Regions from separate parts of the Homo sapiens genome. Here all the other regions are linked to region 1. Evidence: promoter capture Hi-C in 16 types of primary human blood cells and fetal thymus (Javierre and others, 2016). All regions are on one chromosome and are shown on one strand. The core of a region is centred on a gene start or on the middle of the fragment in contact, and the rest is flanking DNA. Distances in the headings are between cores, read along the strand shown. Region 1 has its middle 90 kb from the start of LRRC3B. Region 2 holds the start of LINC00692 (long intergenic non-protein coding RNA 692). Region 3 holds the start of NGLY1 (N-glycanase 1).

Evidence for each region. The method cuts DNA at HindIII sites, captures the fragments that hold promoters and counts their contacts. A CHiCAGO score of 5 or more calls a contact.
Region 2: the fragment with the promoter of LINC00692 here is called in contact with a fragment that was not itself captured in region 1 in 2 of 17 cell types (megakaryocytes and fetal thymus); the score reaches 8.6 in megakaryocytes.
Region 3: the fragment with the promoter of NGLY1 here is called in contact with a fragment that was not itself captured in region 1 in 1 of 17 cell types (fetal thymus); the score reaches 6.0 in fetal thymus.

What each region holds. Positions count from the first base shown.
Region 1 is chr3:26,711,291-26,713,990 of GRCh38, reverse strand. No RefSeq gene overlaps it. Among named protein-coding and RNA genes, the nearest start is that of LRRC3B, 90 kb to the right of the region's middle. The HindIII fragment of the contact is 206 bases long and covers 1,189-1,394 here.
Region 2 is chr3:25,872,382-25,875,081 of GRCh38, reverse strand. It overlaps LINC00692 (long intergenic non-protein coding RNA 692), which reads left to right and starts at 1,387. Exons shown (of 8, transcript NR_034055.1): 1 at 1,387-1,441; 2 at 2,600-2,700. LOC124909357 (a long non-coding RNA gene) reads right to left here and starts at 1,304. Exons shown (of 2, transcript XR_007095849.1): 1 at 1,079-1,304. The HindIII fragment of the contact is 8,581 bases long and covers 1-2,700 here.
Region 3 is chr3:25,782,077-25,784,776 of GRCh38, reverse strand. NGLY1 (N-glycanase 1) reads left to right here and starts at 1,334. Exons shown (of 12, transcript NM_018297.4): 1 at 1,334-1,517. The coding sequence starts at 1,387. RefSeq lists a silencer at 1,145-1,384 and enhancers at 1,695-1,744, 1,905-1,984. The HindIII fragment of the contact is 11,918 bases long and covers 1-2,700 here.

The DNA of each region.
Region 1 (2,700 bases), core at 42-2,541:
CACCTAGCTGTAGTAACAAAAACATTTAATTAAGCAGAATTTTCCACTTCCTGCCTCTGCCAGATAGATGAGAGAACTTACTATATGAATTGAAAGTATTAAGCCAATAAGAAAAACCTACCCACATCTGAGACTGCCTTATGTTTGTTGATGTCAGGACAAGAGTTATTGTGAAGAATCAGAGAAGGACGTAAAAAAGAACAATGCGTACCTGGCAGATTTTGTATATCATTGCATTACAATTTGCCAAAGTGTTCTTGAAAGCTAAATCTTCCATTACATAACTTTTCATTACTTTGTTAAAAATGTTCCAGTTGGGTTGGCATGTTTTCCGATTTTCCTTGCTTCAAAGATAAGCACATTGTCAAAAATTAGAGTAAAATTCCTAGGTATTTCTGAATTTAAAAGGTTGGGGTTAAGAAAGAGATGCCAAAAGAGAAGGCTGAGAAAAGCGTTATTTAAAATATTTAGAAGGTAAGATAGAGGTAAGATAGTATGTGCCTTGGATAATGAGTTGACAGTTAATTTCAAAAACCTTACAGTCCCAAAATAGGTAGCTCTCCATCTGCAAGGGTTTGGAAAATTAAGGGCCAAGCTGGGATCAAAACTGAAGCATGCATGTTGGGCCTTTTTCTGTGCAGACTTGAGTCTTAGTTCTTTTCACTCATTGGCAGCATATACTGTTGGCCTTGGGGGACACAGCATTCCCACAAGCTGGCAGGAAGAGTGCTTCTTCTCAATTCTGATCACAAACGGGTGCCATAGCCTGGTATTTATTTTAAAATAAAGAAACAAACAAAAGAATTAATTTTCTCCTCCAATGGCTTATACATGATTCATGGCAACCGAACTTAAAGGCTCTTTTTAAAAAAAAAAAAAAAAAAGCGCTTAAGGTGCTGTTAACTAAAAATCTACACATAGAATTCAGGCAGGAGAATTATTAACCTATGACACACCTCTCAGCTCTATGTATATGGAGAATTTCAAAGTGAATATGTGGAAATTTAACTTTCCTGCATCTGAACAAGGATATAACTATGCTTACAAAACTTTTCAGAGATTTTTGCTTTACAAGTACTTTTACTTGAATAATACAATTGACCATTGGGAAAATAAGCTCCCATTAGTGAAGACAAAGATTATTTTGGAAGAAGCAGCCTGGAATGGATTATCTTATTTGTGAAAGCTTTTCTAAAATGAACGTGACTCATTCATACACTCAAATAAATACAATTAATTTACCTTTTTAAAGGGTTGTCTTAGCAAAGGCTTGATTTTCCTATTCTTTAGGAAAAAAATGTGTATTTCAGTTCAGTTGGGCATCTTTTCTAGAGTACCTGAAGAGATATATTATACTATTGTCCTCCAGGGGGCGATAAATCTTCAGCAAAGCTTCAGTCTCACTGGAAAGGTGAATTCTCAATTCAGTTCGTAAAAGCAGACAGTCTGGCTTCCTTCTTGCTGGGATGCAGGAATTCTTGGGCCTATATCCTGAATTTTACATCTAGGAGTTACCTCAGGCTTCTAGACTAGATCTAACACTTTTAGCAAGTTTGGTGGGGTTGGGGTGAAAAGCCCATGGCCCTGGGGTGTGTGTACCATGAGCAGAGCCTGGCCACAGTGCTCTGCATGCCTCGCCACAGGTCCTGGATTAGCTGACCCTGATTGTCCCTTGCAATAAATAAACATTTAAAGAGACTATTGCTGCCTAGGACCTCTAGGGCTTTCCGAGAGCAGAAATATTAGGCCCAAAGATACCCTAACTTGGGTTGGAGAAGGCTAAGTGTCTCAAAAGGGCAGAGGTTCCCTCTTACCTACATAAATCTCACAAAGGGCTATTTTTGTGCTATTTGAAAAATAAAACCATCATGTAGGAGGCTGCAAAACTCTAGGTCTGAGGAATCAGCAACTTTAGGTAGTAAAGTTGATGACCATAAGGCAGCACAGTGGATAAAATGTTCATAGGTTCTGGAGTTGACAGACTGGGTTTCAATGCCTGCTATGCTTACAAACTCTGTATTAATTACTTAACTCCTGTGTCTCTGATTCTCATTCACAAAAGACTGTCTCATAGGGGAGTTTGTAAGGACTCATTAAGATACTCCAAAGAAAGTACTTGGTGCATAGTAAGTGTTCCATAAATGCCATCAGTTCTATTATTCCTTAGTCTGGAACTGAGATCTCTACTATATAGTTCCAGCCTTGTTTCTCACTTCTTTGCATGGACTCCTTCATCCCAAACACCTCCCTATATGGTATCCCTCTGCTTCTTCTATCTTCCTTGTCTACATCATCACCTTATGAGATCCCACCCAAGTTTTAAAGATTATCTGTAATGGTACCTTAAAACCAATAACTTCCACACAATTCCCTACTCTTAAGAACCAAATGTGCTTTCTCCTATCTATCTCTGGCCAATGACAAGGACACAATATCTTGATTGTATGACAGATGCCAGGAGTATATATATTTTAAAACTCAGAACTGTGTACTTAACCTAGGTGCTTTTTTTAACAGAAAATTATAACTATAAACCAACTCAGTAGGAACATAATGTGAAGACCTTTCTTTGGAGACAGAAAGATCTGATTCAAATTTAAGAAGTTCTAATACTTTCTACCTGGCAACTCAATGAAGCTCTCTTACTTGAAGTTTTTTCCTATGTAAATAGAGCAGCTGTCACTTTCTTCTCTTGTTGTG
Region 2 (2,700 bases), core at 138-2,637, 840 kb after region 1:
AAAGGCATGTGGCAGGGAATCTTTGTTTTTCACCGTGAAGGGGAAAAATTCAGATTTTAGGCATAAATATACCTCCATCCTGATGGGAAGGAGACACCAATGGGAGCAAGTTAATAAAATTAAAACCTAAAAAGGACTGGGTAGAAGTGGGGTCAAGATAGGAAAGCCAAACATTCAGGTTTCCTCTGCATTCGCATCAATTATCTGTACGTCAAGTGGTAAAGGCAGCAGCTACGGAAGCTAAGCTAACAGTTATTGCCGGGCGCGGTGGCTCATGCCTGTAATCCCAGCACTTTGGGAGGCCGAGGCGGGCACATCATGAGGTCAGGAGATCGAGACCATCCTGTGAATGGTGAAACTCCGTCTCTACTAAAAATACAAAAAATTAGCCAGGCGTGGTGGCGGGCACCCGTAGTCCCAGCTACTCAGGAGGCTGAGGTGGGAGAATGACGTGAACCCGGGAGCAGAGTTTGCAGTGAGCCAAGATTGCACCACTGCACTCCAGCCTGGGAGACAGAGCGAGACTCCTCTCAAAAAAAAAAAAAAAAAAAAAAACAGTTATTAGAGGTAGTTCAAAGGCCTGGAGGCCAAACTTTGAAAGCAGAGGTGATGAAAGTCTTGGGTACCAGGGATCAAGAGCAAGTCAAGCATCTGAAACACAAAAAGGTCAACGCAGAGGTAAAGAGGACAACAGGATTTCAGTGGCCAAAGTACACATGAATACAGAATTGTGAATGTCATATGGAGCAAAACACTGGCAACAAGAATAAGAATGCAAGAATGTCTGATTTGTGAAAGAATCATGATATGTTATGAAAATTGATACTTTCTGATTTCTTCTATACATCTTACTAATTATAAATTATTCTGAGTTGACCAGTAAATGCAGAAAGTATTTAAACCAGCCAGAGCCCAGGAGTGTTCTGGATACAGGTGAGCTCTGTTGGCATCTGGAACAGAAGAACTGGATGTGGCAGATTGCACCTTCCAAAGATGATCACCATAGTATCTCCTATCTAATACGCTGTTCCGCAATATGACTTTGACATTTCCTCATCAAGAAGTGGAGTCTTATTACCTTACTCTGGGCTTGGCTTTACTGGCTTGTTGAACCAGCAGAATATGACAGAAGTGACACTCCAACCTCTGAAAAGACTGTAAAAACACCTTGCAATTTCTACCTGAGCCTCTTAAAAGGATCACTCTTGGGATGCTGTCTCTGAGGACTGTGGCCATATGAAAGGTCTCAGCCACATGAAAAGGTTATTGGTTGGTGTTCAGGCATGTAGCTCCAGCAGAACTCCTAGGAAACAGTCATCATCAACTGCCAGCCATGCCACATTCCAACTCAACTGAACCTTTAGACGAATGTAGCCCTAGCCTCTATTTGACTTCAACTACAAGAGAGATGCCAAGCTGAGACCAGTTAAGCCACAGAACTGTGAGATATAAAAATAAATTGTTATTTTAAGCCATGTGTTTCAAGGCGGCTTGCTATGTAGCAATAGATAATCAGTACCTAGGGTTACAGGGATGATTTTTTAAATTATCTCTATCTATGGCTAGTAATACTGGGGCCATGACACTTACAGTTATCAACTCCAGCAGACTCAGAAATTCACTCAGCTCCCCTACTCCACCCTTTTTGGTTCTCCAATAAAATGTTTGGTGATGGATGGCTCTGGAAGTTAAATGAGACTTGGTATTACCTGGGAAATTTTGATTTGCAGCAACTCCACAATGACTATTATTGCACATAACTGAGATGTGACTAGAGCCTGGAACAACTGAAAACGCAGAAAAGTCTGTATTATAAGACCAGGGTGGAGAGCAAGTACTGAAGATAACTGAGTGATCACTAAAATACATCAGAGAATCCACACTCTCGTGATAAGTGGCATTTGAAGGGAGAAATTTTCCAGAGAGATAAATGAGACCTTTCTCAATTAATATCAGTACTTGTGTTGCTTGTTATATTGTTGCATTTCCTCCTGAAATATTACAGGCACCAGGCTATTTCACTTACCTCCAAACCTTCAATTGTTTAGTCTCTGTTAATGCAAGGTCATAATGCAGAACACAGATCCTCAGTTTACAGTCAATCCTCAATTATTCAAGGCTTATGGAGTTACAGCGCAGTCCAGTAGATCTCTGCTTAAATATTGGTTTCATTGACATTTGGACACATCTGGAAATTCAGTCTGCTTAATTTTGATTTTGCTGACATCACAACTCAGTTATTTGAACTCTAAATACCTAATCACCTCTAGTGCAAGTTTGAGCTAGATGGACGGCAGGAGAGAAGTAAACATTTATAGATTGTCTTTTGCATTTTACATACATTATCTAATTTAGTCCCCACAGCAATTCAATGAGATATTACTATCCTTATTTCATAGAAAATGAAACTCAGGCTCAGAAAGTTCAACTTAAGTTTGCTTCCTTCCCCATTTTGTTGCTTAACAATATAATTAAGAGAATAGACTCTAGAATCAAACAGACTGGAATTATCTTTTTATCATAATATGTTTTTATTAAAATGAGTTTTTAAATGTATAGTTTATCTGTTTTTATATCTGGCAGTTTCTCTATGATTTAGCTTTCAGAAAAGTCATATTGTTCTCAAATGACCTAGCTTTTACCTTCGTTAACTCAAACCTGCACCCATCTGAAGTGAAACCAGCAACCATTTAACAGCAA
Region 3 (2,700 bases), core at 85-2,584, 930 kb after region 1:
AGATTTACATATTTATTAAAAGCGTACGTATATTTGGGAGACGAATAGTCATTGAACTGGATGTCATAGCTTAGGGTCTTGTTCGGAGATTCTGGAAGAAAATTTCAATTCTTAAAAGTAAACAGATGAAACATCAAGAAATTTAAAAGAGGTTATTCAGGCAAATCACTTATCTTAAGAAATAAAGTCAAGAAAAATACTTCGTGAGGTTGAAAAGGAATTTCTGCAAAGAAGGAAGCCACTGGTAAAGTACACTTTCAAGAACATGGTGGGGAAGAGACTGGATTAAAGTAGTAAGGGATGCATCTTCTAAGAGGAATAAAAGACCTTGATCACATGATCTACCTAAAAAACAAGTCACAAAATATTACTTACCCTTACTGTGTGGGATGCAAATTTTTATTCCCTTCCCGCCCCCGACATTCTATAATATTGCGTAATTATTATGCATGTGTTTTACGCTGGTCACCACGCGGTAAACCGAATCCACAACCCATTATTATGTCGCAACCTATGGTTTAAAAATACACTTCCTTACAGAGGAATCATATACTAGTTGAGCTGGAACTTAGATTTTCAGTCATTAGCCAAATTCTGAAAAGAATCCATATAACAAACCCAGCAGAGTTTATAGCCATGGTTTTGTTTTTGACGTTTGTTGCTCCTTCCTTCTGTAGTCTTTCATCCACATCTATGTAGAACGTCCTGACAATCTGCGAAGAGAAGGCTCTAAGGTGGTTTTATTTGTGGGGAAAGGAGGGAGGTACATGCGGTTTCTCCACCTTAATAGCTGGATCAATTAGGCTGGCCCCGGAGCGCAAAGGGATCCGGGTTTCTGAGAGGCACGTGCCAGCACCATTCGCCCGATACCTCTAGACCAAAGCCGGCCTCCCCTCCAGCCGAGCTCCTCCGTCCTAAAGGACTCGACATCCCCCTCCTCCAGGCCCACACCCCTCAGCCCCGGAGCCCAGGCCCCGCCTCTCCCTGCGGAACCCCTTCCCAACCTGTACGACCAGGCCCCAACTCTGGGTCGAAGCACCTCGCCCCTGCCGGCCGAGGCCCCCCACCTTCTTCCGAACAGCCCCTTGCCCCCCGCGAAGGGGCAGCCGTAGCTCCCAGCCGAGCTCCCCCGCTCCTGGCCCCGGTCCCCGACCCCGCCCCAGGCCCCCGACCCCGCCCCTGCCGGCCGAAGACCCCGCCCCTGCCGGCCGAGGACCCCGCCCCTGCCGGCCGAGGACCCCGCCCCTGCCGGCCGAGGACCCCGCCCCTGCCGGCCGAGGACCCCGCCCCTGCCGGTGGCTGCGGTAGCTGCTGCGCGCTGAGGCGCCTGCTCAGTGTGGGACGCGGAGAGCGAGGGGCGGCGGCGGCGCCCGCTGGCGCTCAAGCATGGCGGCGGCGGCATTGGGCAGCTCCTCAGGCTCGGCGTCCCCGGCCGTGGCTGAGCTCTGCCAGAACACCCCGGAGACCTTTTTGGAGGCCTCCAAGCTGCTGCTCACCTATGCTGACAACATCCTCAGGTGCAGGGCAACGGGGTCGGACGGCGGGTACCGGGGTGGGTGGGCCGCGGCACCTTGTTCGGCCAGGGACTGGGGCGTCCGGCCTGAGCTTCAGAGGGCAGCGACGCCCGGACAGACCGGGACCTGGAGCTGGTTCTGCTCCTAACGTCCGAGCCCGCCGGCCAGGGGCCTCGGGACCCGGCCAAGTCCCACCCCCGCTCGAGAAAAGGAAGTTTCTTTGCAGTTGTGACTTGGCACCTGCAGTCAGGGTGCTGCGGGTGAACTGGAGTCCCGGAAGCGGGGCCGGGCGGAGGAGAGGTAGGAAGGCGTGCTTCAGACACTGCCGCTCTTCTCGTCGTTTAACGGCCTCAGATATCGGGACACAACGGTAACCGCACCGCGCGTGTCATTCCCCCTGCGTGCATTTTTCGAGCGGAGTGGCTTACATTTCCACATACTTATCAGAAGTTACTCACTGACAAAGTGATGTTTTCTTCCCATGTTGAGACTATCCGAGTACTAAAGCATAATGCTTCTGAAGTGGTGGGTTTTAAAATTTTTAATTTTTTTTCTGCCCACTTTTGTTGATTGAAACATTATAGTATTTTGAAGTTACAGTTTTTATATTAATACCTGGATTCTACTATGTAACATAACCCTTTAAGAATTCGTGGAGGTAATCGCCTTGGATGAGAGTAATTTCCTTCATTCTCCTGTCAGCAAAATTGCACTTCTAGAGGTCTAAGGGACCTTGCAGATTTTGGGAATTGGGAGGCAAGTTTGATTATTCATTTTGAATAAGTACCCACCTCAACTCTTCAGATCAAATGATCTGAAGGGACATGGTGTGGGGGGGTAGGGAAATGGAACTGAGGTTAAAGGAGAGCCACTTGCTTTAGGGGTGTTACCTCATTTATCAGGTCACCGTGATTAATTAGGTTCTCTGTTCCCCTCAGCCCCTGGTGCATTAAGTGTTTGGTATATTGTCATGAAGTCTAAAAGGAAATTCTCAGTTTCAAGGTTATAGGTTTCACGTGACCCAATTTTAGACATTAGTTACATGTGCAGTTTTTAAAATCCATGTCAGTAATATTTCATTTAGGCAATGGTAATGATTTTTAAAGTAAATTGAAGGGAAAATATATTGAGCCCTTATTTTGTGGCAGATGCTATGAAAGATGCAACATGTGGCCTGTTCACAGCT